3 separate regions of the Homo sapiens genome follow, and regions 1 and 3 are each linked to region 2. The links are contacts of gene promoters, found by promoter capture Hi-C in human tissues and cell types (Jung and others, 2019). All regions are on one chromosome and are shown on one strand. Each heading gives the region's core, a stretch centred on a gene start or on the middle of the fragment in contact. The rest is flanking DNA. Distances are from core to core; before and after follow the strand shown.

Region 1 (3,675 bases), core at 1,149-3,648, 59 kb after region 2:
TTGGGTATATACATAAGAGGGATTGTTGGGTCACATGGCAGTTCTATTTTTAATTTTTTGAGGAATGCCTAAATTGTTTTCCACCAAACATAATACTTTCCCTGAAAAAGGAATATTGGAGTCCACTATTATTAGTGTATTTCTATTTTTCTCTTCAGTTCTGTTAATATTTATATATTTAGGAGTTCCAATTTGAGTGCATATATATTTATAATTGTCATATTTTCTAGATGAATTGACCCCTTTATCATAATTCAATGATTGTTTTTATCTTTCTTTACAGTTTTTGACTTAAAATCATTTTTTTCTGATATAAGTATAGCCACTCCAGCTCTCTTTTGGTTACTATTTTCATGGCATACCTTTTTTCATCTGTCTGTTTCTGCTGCTGTAGCAAAAATACCACAGAGTCGGTAATTTATAAATAATATAAATTTATTTCTAACAGTTGTAGAAACTAGAAGTCTAAAGATCAAAGCCTTAGTAGATTTGGCTTCTGATGAAGGCTTTCCCTCTTCTTCCATGATGGCATCTTGTGGCTGTGTTCTCACATGGTGAAACGTGGAAGGGAAAAAGGGATGGAAGGGGCAATCTCACTCCCTCAAGCCCTTTCATAAGGCACTAGTCCCTTCTAGGAGAGCTTTGCCCTCATAGTCAAATCACTCCTAAAGCCTCACCTCTTCATACTGTTGCACTGGGGATCAAGTTTCAAAATGAATTTTGAAGAACACACAAACACTTAAACCATAGCATCAACTAAAATCAGTTTCTTGTAGGCAGTATTTAGTTGAATTTCTGTTTTTAAAAAATCAACTCAGCCAATGTGTGTGTATGTGTGTGTGTGTGTGTATATATATATATTTTTTTATTTTAAATATATACATATTTTTTTATTTTAAAACTTTTTTTGTCTTATTGTTTGTAACATTATTTTCTTTTTTTCCCTGCTTTTCCTGAGCTGTATTTTTTTATTGGAGAATTTAATCCACTTACATTTAAGGTAATTGTTGATAGGTAAGGATTTACCACTGCCGTTTTAAAAACGTTTTGTAACTCTTTTGTAGTTCCTCTATTCCATTCTCCCTCTTGCTGTCTTTCTTCATGATTTGATAATTTTTGTAGTGGCATGATTTCATTTTTTTTTTTCTTATATTTTGTGTATCATTTACAGGTTTTTTTCCTTGTGGTTGCCATGGGGCTTACATAAACATCTAATTGTTATAGCAGTCTATTTTAAGCTGATAACTTCTATTGAATACAAAAACTCCGTTTTTTAACTTTTCACTTCCTTACATTTTATGTTACTGATGTAACAATTTATATTTTTTAATATATTTTGTATCAAATTAACAAATTTTTATAGCTATAGTTACTTTTATACTTTGTATTTTAACTTATATGAGTTAAAAGTGATTTATAAACCATGATGACAGTATTCTGGTTGTATTACAGTTTAGTAGAGTATCTAAACTTGACAGTAGAGTATCAAAACTTTACAGTGAGTTTTACATTTTTGTATGTCCTCATGTTGTTAGCATATGTTTGTTTCAACCTGAAAAACTTTAGTTTACATTTCTTGTAAGGTAAATCTAGTGTGATGAACTCCCTCAGCTTTTGTTTGTTTGAAAAAATTTATCTTATTTTAACAATTATTTTTGAAGGACAGCCTTGTTGGGTATAACATTTTTGATTAGAAGTTGTTTTCTTTTACTATTTTGAATACATTATCCAATTTTCTCCTGGCCTACAAAATTTCTGCTGAGAAATACACTAACAGTCTTATGGGGGTTCTTTGAATGTGAAGAACTGATTTTTTCTTGTTGCTTACAAAATTCTGTTTGTCACTGACTTTTGAGAATTTGGTAATAATGGATCTTGGTGAAGATCTGGTATTTAATATATTTGAGTATCTTTGGGCTTCATGGATCTAGGGGTTCATTTCCCATTCTAGATTTGAGAAGTCTTCTGTCATTTTTTTACTTAAAGTAAGCAATCTGTCCCTTTCTCTTTTTCTCCTCCTTCTGGTACCCTGAAATGTGTATATTGGTTTACTTTATGATGTCCCATAAATCCTATAATCTTCCTTAACTTGTTAAAATTCTTTTTCCTTTTGTTCCTCTGACTGAATAATTAAAGTGATCTGGCTTCAAGCTCACAGATTCTTTCTTATGCTTGATTGGGTCTGCTGTTGAACAGCTCTCTATGAAATTTTTCAGTAGACTCATTGTGTTCTTTAGCTCCAGAATTTCTGTTTGGTTCTTTTTTTATGGTTTCTATCTCTTCTTTGAACTTCTCACTTTGTTCATTTATTGTTTTTCTAATAAATTTAGTTGTCTTAATATCTAATATAATTTAGTTATTTCTTATAGCTCAATGAGCTCCTTTTTTTTTTTTTTTTTTTTTTTTTTTTTTTTTTTGAGACAGAGTCTCACTCTATTGTCCAGGATGAAGTGCAATGGCATGATCTCGGCTCACTGCAACCTCTGCCTCCTGGGTTCAAGTGATTCTGCTGCCTCAGCCTGCCAATTAGCTGGGATTACAGGTGCCCATTACCATGCCTGGCTGATTTTTCTATTTTTAGTAGGGATGAGGTTTCTCTATTCGGCCAGGCTGGTCTCAAACTCCTGACCTCAAGTGATCAATCTGCCTTGGCCTCCTAAAGTGCTGGGATAACAGGTGTGAGCCACTGTGCCCAGCCTCAATGAGCTTAAGATGGTTATTTTGAATTCTTTGTCAAGTGGTTCATAGATCTTCATTTCTTTAGGGTTGGTTACTGGTGTCTTATTTTGCTCCTTTGGTGGTGTCATGTTTCTCTAATTATTCATGATTTTTGTGGCCTTGTACTGATATCTATACATTTTAGGAAGTAAGCATCTTTCCGGTCTTTACAGAATGGCTTTGGCAGGAAGAGCTCTTCGTAAATTAGCCTGTCTAGAAATTCTAGGCAGCCTGACTTAGATTCCATGTGCAGGCTTGCTGCTGGAGTCCTTGGGCAGAGTAACCTGATACCTAGGTCAACAAGTGAGTAGGCCTGGAATTGGCTCCACATGGGATGGTCTGGACTTTGGGTTTGCTGGGGGCAGGCCTGCAGCCTGAGTTCACATGGGCCATCTGGGTGTCAGGGCCCACTAAGGTAGGCTTGTCAACTGGCTATTCAGGGATATGCCTTGAGTCTGCCCATAGAGGCCAGCCTAGGACTGGAGTTTACCCAGGTGAGCTGGATCCCTAGATTTTCTGGGGCAGCCTGGACCCTGGGTCCAGTGAAACCTGGGACTGCAGGCACCAGTCTGGTGCTGAGGCAGTCCTGGAGCCTGCATCCACCAGAGTGGTCCTAGAGCCTTGGTCCATGGGTTCCAGCCTGGCACTGGGGCCTGCTAAGGCAGGCCTGGACTCTTGGTCTGCTGGAGCACTGAGTCATGGGCGCTAACCTAATGCCAAGGCCTGGTGGTGGGATAGGCCTGTAGCCGGTGGTGATGGGAATCATCCTGGCACCGGGATGGGCCTGATGACTTGGGTCATAGAAGCTAGCCTGAAGCCTGAGCCATGAGGAATAGCCTGATACTGGATTTTACTGGGGCAGGCCTGGTGCTAAGGTCTATAGCAAAGTCAAGTACTTATTCTTTTTCTCAGGCAGAAGGTGTCTCTCTCTTTGCTGTGCTATGCAGGCTTGGGGGA
Region 2 (3,730 bases), core at 352-2,851:
GTTAATCCCTCAAATTCTGAAAACCTTATACAAATTTAATAAAAGAAATAAATGTTGTAAACAGATTAAATGTAATTCTCTTCATTAAATACGAAGAACTTATCCTACTTTTATGAATTTTCATATTAGAAGGTCAGCATTTTTCCTGCCATAAAACATCTTTAAAATGGTAACTCCTAGACAGCCACTAATTTGCATTTCAATAAACAGGCTAAAAATGTCTACAGAAGTTATGGTGACTCTTTTCTAGCAAGGTTGAATGAGAAATTCAATTCTTTTAATACTCAGGTGCAACACTGAAGAACATCATTTCAGTTGCAATATCTTTTTGAGTATCAAAGGTAAATTTCAGTGCTATATATACATTTCGTATTGGAGGCTCAGGGGTGAGCCTGCGATTTTTGTCATAGGACGTTAGAGACACAAAAACATTTTACAAAGAACTTTGCTTTTAGCTTGCATTGTTTTGTGAATATGAACTGATGCAAAGACCACGTGTGTAAGACACTTTATACCTGAATAACCAATGAAAGGCCATTTGGGGCTCCATATTAATCACAAACAAGAAAACCCACTTTGCTTCGTTAATTATTAGCAGTTCTTACTACGAATAATTAGAAGGGAAACCAGATGCCCTTCTCTTATAAACAAGTGTCTATCTAAATCAACGAACCTGTACAGATTAGACCCTGGGTGAATTCATGCTTCTCAAAAACCTTGTGTTTGACTTCAGTCCAATAGCTCAGTCTACCACACTTGTGAATCTCCCAAAGAACGAAAACAAAGCTCTAAGTTTTTTTTATTCACAAGAGGGAAAACCAGGACTATTTAGAAAGCAGAAGATGGAGAGGCCACTGCCTAGCCTATCCAGATAAGTTTATTTGGATATAGTTTACTCTATCCAGAGAGTCAAATCCCCTAAACACGAGACTGCTATTTCCAAGGTGGAAAGGGAAAGAAAAGAAATGCAAAAGGTAAAAGTTAAAGGAAAAGGAACAAAACAAAACCGCGTGCGGCTGGAAGTGCGCGGGTTTCTGCCGTCGCCTCGCGGAAAAGGCAGAAGCGTCTGCAAAGGTCCTTCTGCAAAGGTCCCGGTCCGTCCAGCTCAACCCACGTTAGCCCGGACCGTGACCCAAGGGCAGCCCCGAGCCTCTGACCCTCTCCGCCGCCCTCCGTCACTGACCTGCGTAGACAAAGAGCAGGACCAACTTCGGAAGCAAGACCCCTGGACGCACGGGTAGCCTCGGAGCGTCCATCCAAGCCGGTGGCCTGAGGCTTGGAGCGAAGGGAGAGCCCGGAACCGGAGGGAATGGGGAGGATGGAGGGCGATCAGATGGAGAGAGCAGCGCTCCTGAGAGCCGGGTGGAGCAGAGACCCGGCCATTGCCTAGGGAGCCTTCCAAGGGAGCCCGGGCCGGGCGCGTCCCGGGCCAGCGACTGCGGGACTCCGCGGAGCTGGGGCGCCCGTGGCCCGAGACGGGCTGCGCTGGGGGCCCAGGTCTCTTTGTCTCGCCCCACTGCGCTCAGGCGCGGGGAAGGCGGCCACTCCGGCGTCCTTGGCCACCCAGGCTCACATTTCATCTCCGCGGGTGGCAACGACTGCGGGCAGGGGGCGGGGGTGGCCCCGACTCCTCCCCAAGCCCGGGTTCTTCCTTCTAAAGAGTGACTAGGGGACCAAGAAACTTTTCCTAACCCCTTGCTTTGGCGATTGCTATGGAGTTCAGCCTGCTCCTTTTTAACCTTGCCTCCACTACAATTTTTCCTTTCTAAGCAATGGATGAACAACTTTGCTTTTTATCTTTAAACAAAGGGAAGGAATTTTCAGGGTTGAAGGTATTCGACAAAGAGTGACAGTGAAGAAAACTCAGGATTGGGAAGTACAGAAAGTGTATGGCATCTCTGCTGAAAGCTGATAAAATGTTTATTATTTTTTCCTGTAAATTCAGAAAAAAAAAACACAACAGTGCACACTGTCGTTATGATTTTGACGTTTTGGAGTTACTGGCCTATGCAATTAAACAAGAGAAAGAAAAAGATTTATGAAAAATGAAAGCTAAATTGTCATTAGCAAATGAAATACGTGTATACATGGAAAATCAAAGTTAATCAACTATAAAGCTCTTGTTTAGCAAACCAATAGTTTTCTTTCCTGCAAACAAAAATCAGAAAGTTCTCAATGTTATGCATGAAGGAAAAAAAATGATACGAATAAGTAAAGAGATACTTTTTTCACTAAGAAAATTTAGTAGGATAAAGACAACAAGATTCCCCAAATTATTATATACATTTGGAAATAAAATTGATCCCAATTTTTAAAATAACATGATTTTTTTCAAACCAATCTGATTCTAAAGTTTATATGGAAAATAAATATGTAAGAATATCTATTTAAAACAAGAGTAATGAATGGGAATAATGAATGGGATATTACATATAATATCACAATAATTAAAACAGTTTAGATTAACATTGGAATAGATAGGCTTAGTGAAAGAGAAAAGGTAACCCAAAAGTAGACATGAGTATGTACAGCAATTTAATTTATGGTTTAAAGAAATATCAATGTAAAGTAGTAGGGGAAATGATGAGTTACTCAGTGAAAAGTGTTGAGGCCGTAAATAGCCATCTGTGGAGCCTTATCTTTTTACATCAAAATCAGTTCTATATGAATTACATATTTAAGATACAACTATGAAAATATTAGATTAAAAAATAAGAGGATAACATTCAAATAATTGTGGAATAGGGAAGCCTTTTCTAAGCATTATAAAAAACTCAGAAACCATAAAACAAAATATTGACCAACTTGACTAAATAAGAATTAATACTTCCAGTTGGCAGACATTTAACTGGCAAAAATATTTGCAATGCAAAGTCCTAATCTCATTATTATACTGAGCTTAAAAAAATCAATAGGAAAAACAACCAAGAGATAACTGAGGAAGGATATTAATAGACACTTCATACAAAACAAATAAATATAAATATAGAAATAAAATTGACAGTGAGACATCACTTTTCATGTATCAAACCAACCAAATACAAAACCAAATGAACTCTTAAGGGAAACGGTGTGGTTATATGTACGAAAATTCAAATACACATGTACTTAATTTAGTCAGTTCTCTTCCAGGAATTTTTTCCTGTAAATGCAGTGCTGCAAGGGAATACGAGAGTGGGAGGAAACATCACCCCCAAAATAAACATAAGCTAAGCTCTTTACTGTGTTTTACACGTTGGTGAAGGCCCAACCATCCACCATGTTCTAAAGAAGGCTGATCAGTTCCACCTTTTTTCTCATCCTCGCTGGCCAATCTATCACCAAGTTCACCTAATCTGTCCACCTGAACACCACCCAAACGCATTTTAAATTATCATCTATTTCTGTCCTAATCTAGACTTTTATAGTCTTGATTATATTCAGCCTCCCTGCCTTCAGAGATGTTTGCCAGACTGAAGCTGGAATATTTCTTCTTAAACTACAGATTTCATCATGTTCACTCACTCAGTAGCATCCTGTTGCCCTTAGGTTAAAATTCAAACATTTAATCCAGGGTGTTCAAGAACTTGTTCACTAGGTCCTGTCATTCTTGTAGCCTGATCAAAACATTCCACTGGGAAGCACAATTTCTAAATAACTGGGACAATGGTTGGAACCTAGAGAAAATCCCAGGCATACAAGCCCTTTGAGTCTTGAAGGAAGAAGATACAGATGGAAGTCAGTGTTTGCA
Region 3 (3,781 bases), core at 879-3,378, 44 kb before region 2:
CCAAACACTATGGTCTTGTTAATTGTCAACACCTGACTCAGAGCAGGCACAAGCTATGTTAAGCACTTATAATGAATTAGAAAATAAAGTTGACCCCAAAGGTGAAAAGGATCTGGGCCTTTTTTTCTTCCCAATATGCAAGTGTGTTCACAACATGAGTGATCAGAAGTCAGGGGATGCTGGGCTATCCCACGTAACTCTATTCTGCACGAGAAACACATATAAAGGCATTTGGACATTTGGAACAAATTAGAGCTACAGTAAAGGCCAGAAACACTGCCAGTTTCCCTCTTGCTTTCTCCCCAGGCCAACATATTACCAAAATAAGTAGTCTCATCAATAAACTAGGGTTTGGAATTTGGAATTAACCAGGCATAATTTCTCAAGTATTATGGCCTCTTTTTTAAAGGCATGAAGTTGGGTAAAATTGATACCTTTTAATTCTGTAAAATATAACCCAATTTACATAACCAAATAAAGTCAAATCACTTTTAATTTTACTTATTGAGTGCTGTACAAACCTCAAAGGTTAGAAAGCCAACAAAAAAAATGCAGAATAGGCAGCTTTTTATATTTTTCCTGAATTTAGAAATTTTTCATTATATGGACAATTATTATTGAAAATATGTGTTTTTATCATCCAGTAAAAATGGCTTATGTTGGCATGAATATACTCCATTTCATTGCTACTTTTGTACATTTCTTTTATTTTGCCTGAATATGGCCAGATGAATCATATATAAAGAAAGCTCAGCTCCTCCAGAACACTGCTATTGTATAAAGAGTACTGCTGCCAAATTCAAAGCTAAATTCAGGTTTGAGGTATCAGAATCTTTTATAGGTCCCGGGAGAATATTTTGTTCAAATAATAGTCCAGTGATTTGAGGGTGTGTGCACCTGTTGATTTTCTAGAAATATAATATTCTGCGAAGTCAGGGATAATGAAGGCTAAGCCATCATTACCTTTTTAAAAATGACAAAGGAATGAACTGTTTCATAAAAGTGTCATATAGAAATTTCAAAAATAAACTACAGAAATTCTATAAATAAAGAGTAAAGGAAAAAAATTCAGCAACACTTAAAACGAGTAAAAATCCAGAGACATCCTGGTAGAAATCTTAGTCCACAGTCAATCAAAAAGAAGCAAATATCACTACAGAAAAACAATTTTGACAGAATAGAAATAAAAATATTCATTGTATTCCAAAAAATAACATCATTTTTGTTAATAGCTAAATATCTTTTTTTAGTTCAAAAGGTTTACCTTTTAAAGCTTTGATTTCTTTTAGAAATTCCTATTAAATACTATTTTCCAGAAATTTGTTAATGCAACTGATATGATTTGGATATGTGTCCCCTCCAAATCTCGTGTTGAAATGTGATCCTTAGTGTTGGAGGTGGGCCTAGTGAGAGGTGTTTAGGTCATGGAGCAGGTCCCTCAGGAATGGCTTGGTGCCACTCTCATGGTAAGGAGGGAGTTCTTGCTCTGGTAGTTCAAGCAAGAGCTGGTTGTTTAAAGGAGACTGGCTCCTTCCTGCTCTCCCTCTTTTGCCCCTTCTCTCACCATATGATGTGCCTGCTCCTCAATTGCCTTTTGCCATGAGTGGAAGCTTCCTGAGGCCCTCGTCAGAACCGGGTGCCAGTGCTATGCTTCCTGTACAGCCTGTAGAACCATGAGCCAAAATAAATTTCTTTCCTTCATAAATTACCCTTCCTCAAGTCTTTACAGAAATGAAGGAATGAACTAACACAGCAACTTTGTAAAGCACTTAAAATGAGGGGAAAAGGGAAAGTCTAAGACTCAGTTCAATCTATTGGATGGTACAATTATTTATATATTTAAAGAGGAGCAACTTCTTGATCAGAAATCAATTTGACCTACAGTTACGGGAGCTTAAGTACTGATTATATGTGGCCATCAGAGAAGAAAACATGTAAGAGATGGAGGAACATTCAAAAAGATCTCTTATAAGCCTTTTCAACAGAGATTTCTCTGGAACAGGTGGGCTAACACTACAAAATTTTGTTGGTTTAGTATGTTTCATGCAAACACAGTCCATTATTAGAAGCAAACAAAGGGCCACAGGTGAGATTAAAATAATTACTCAGTTTTTCCTTGTGATGACTCTTACACTGATACTTTATATATAGTACTTATTAGTCACAACCATTCAGTAGATGTGTATTACCACTGTTTCCTAACATATAATGAAAGTGAGGGTCAGAGGAGGTTAGTAACTTGCCTAAGGTCACTCAGTAAGTGGCATTTAGAGGTGGCAATTTGAATAGAAGCATGTCTAGCTCAAAGTCCATTCTATGTTTATCACATTAGATAATCTTACATATGTTTCTTTTGCATCTTTTTTAGAATGATATACAGAGTTTTATGAAATAATTGCATTTCTGATAAACTGGCTATAAATTACCTTTTATAAACAGAGTCACATATTAATATACATTGGAAGCACTCACTCATTCAACAAATGCCATGCAATGCATTTATAAAGTAATTCATGAAGAAAACAGGTAACCACAATTTTATATAAATTTCAACTACAAATGATAACTCTTAGCTTTGCCTAAAATGGATTAAATCTGTACCAAGTGTGCTTTTGCTGGATCCAGCAGCACTCATTAGCATGGTTTGGGAATAGGTGCCCTCTTGCAGACTTGCAGGCTAGCTGAACCAGTAGCATAGTGCATATAAATGCAGATCCTGAAAACATAGGGGAGTGCGGTTTGCAACAGCCAAGAATGATATCATCAGTCTCTATTTCATTTAATTAAAAATTATCAGCTGTACATAGTGCTATTTTTGACACAGGTCACTGTGGTTCAATGCTATTGGATTTTATCTTATTAAGCACTTAGCTGTTTGCTGGAATGATGGAGGGGCAGAGCTGTGTATTCACAGAGGTTACAGAGTTAGCCCTTAGACCTTTGGTAACATTGAATAGTTTATCCTCAAAGGCTCCTTTCTTGAAAACTTTATGTTATGGCTACCCATCCCATCTTTTCTAGTGACAATGATGAAATGTGTTGAAACATTAATATATATCAACGGAAATACTGACATATGTTGACATACATAAGTGTTGGTAAACAACTCTACAACTATAGTAAATAAATAAACCATTCTTCTATCAGAGACTAGGGCAAACCTAAGCTGTATGACTTTGGATATTACTGTGAAGCTTAGTTTTGCCAGACAATTTTGCTTGTATTTGTATGTTCTGAAAGCCAACTGAGTTGAGAAACTACTTACAGAATTCAATCTGCTCCAGCAGCCTGAATGATTGTTTTGCCCATAATAAAATTATTTTTTATTCATAAATATATACTTTTTAATTTTGAAGTAATCCTAAACTTAAAGAGAAAGTTGTAAGTATAATATAAATAACTATAAAAATCATTTTTGTCTGCAGCATTTTCTGCAAATGTTGCCTCCAGTTATAGTTTTTCTTTTAATTGTTAGGATTTTGTTTTAAATTTAGCCTTAAAATGTGAGTTTATTGGGCATTTTATAATATTAATTTTATTTTTTTTAATTATACTTTAAGTTCTGGGATACATGTGCAGAACGTGCAGGTTTGTTACATATGTATACACGTGCCATGGTGGTTTGCTGCACCCATCAACCTGTCATCTAAATGAGGTATTTCTCTTAATGTTATCCCTCCCCTATCCCCCAACCCCTCGACAGGCCCCGGTGTGTGATGTTCCCCTCCCTGTGCCCATGTGTTCTCATTGTTCAACTCCCACTTATGAGTGAGAACAGGCA

What was found. Contacts are between HindIII fragments. The study calls those that stand out against the background at their distance.
Region 1: a contact is called between a fragment that was not itself captured here and the fragment with the promoter of CYYR1 in region 2, in 1 of the 25 tissues and cell types used here (dorsolateral prefrontal cortex).
Region 3: a contact is called between a fragment that was not itself captured here and the fragment with the promoter of CYYR1 in region 2, in 3 of the 25 tissues and cell types used here (H1 embryonic stem cells, heart left ventricle and mesenchymal stem cells).

What each region holds. Positions count from the first base shown.
Region 1 is chr21:26,629,857-26,633,531 of GRCh38, forward strand. No RefSeq gene overlaps it. Among named protein-coding and RNA genes, the nearest start is that of CYYR1, 58 kb to the left of the region's middle. The HindIII fragment of the contact is 4,999 bases long and covers 1-3,675 here.
Region 2 is chr21:26,571,685-26,575,414 of GRCh38, forward strand. It overlaps CYYR1 (cysteine and tyrosine rich 1), which reads right to left and starts at 1,602. Exons shown (of 4, transcript NM_001320768.2): 1 at 1,184-1,602. The coding sequence starts at 1,256. The HindIII fragment of the contact is 7,865 bases long and covers 1-3,730 here.
Region 3 is chr21:26,526,929-26,530,709 of GRCh38, forward strand. The region is part of intron 2 of CYYR1 (cysteine and tyrosine rich 1); the gene reads right to left. The region is part of intron 2 of CYYR1-AS1 (CYYR1 antisense RNA 1); the gene reads left to right. Among named protein-coding and RNA genes, the nearest start is that of CYYR1, 44 kb to the right of the region's middle. The HindIII fragment of the contact is 3,105 bases long and covers 577-3,681 here.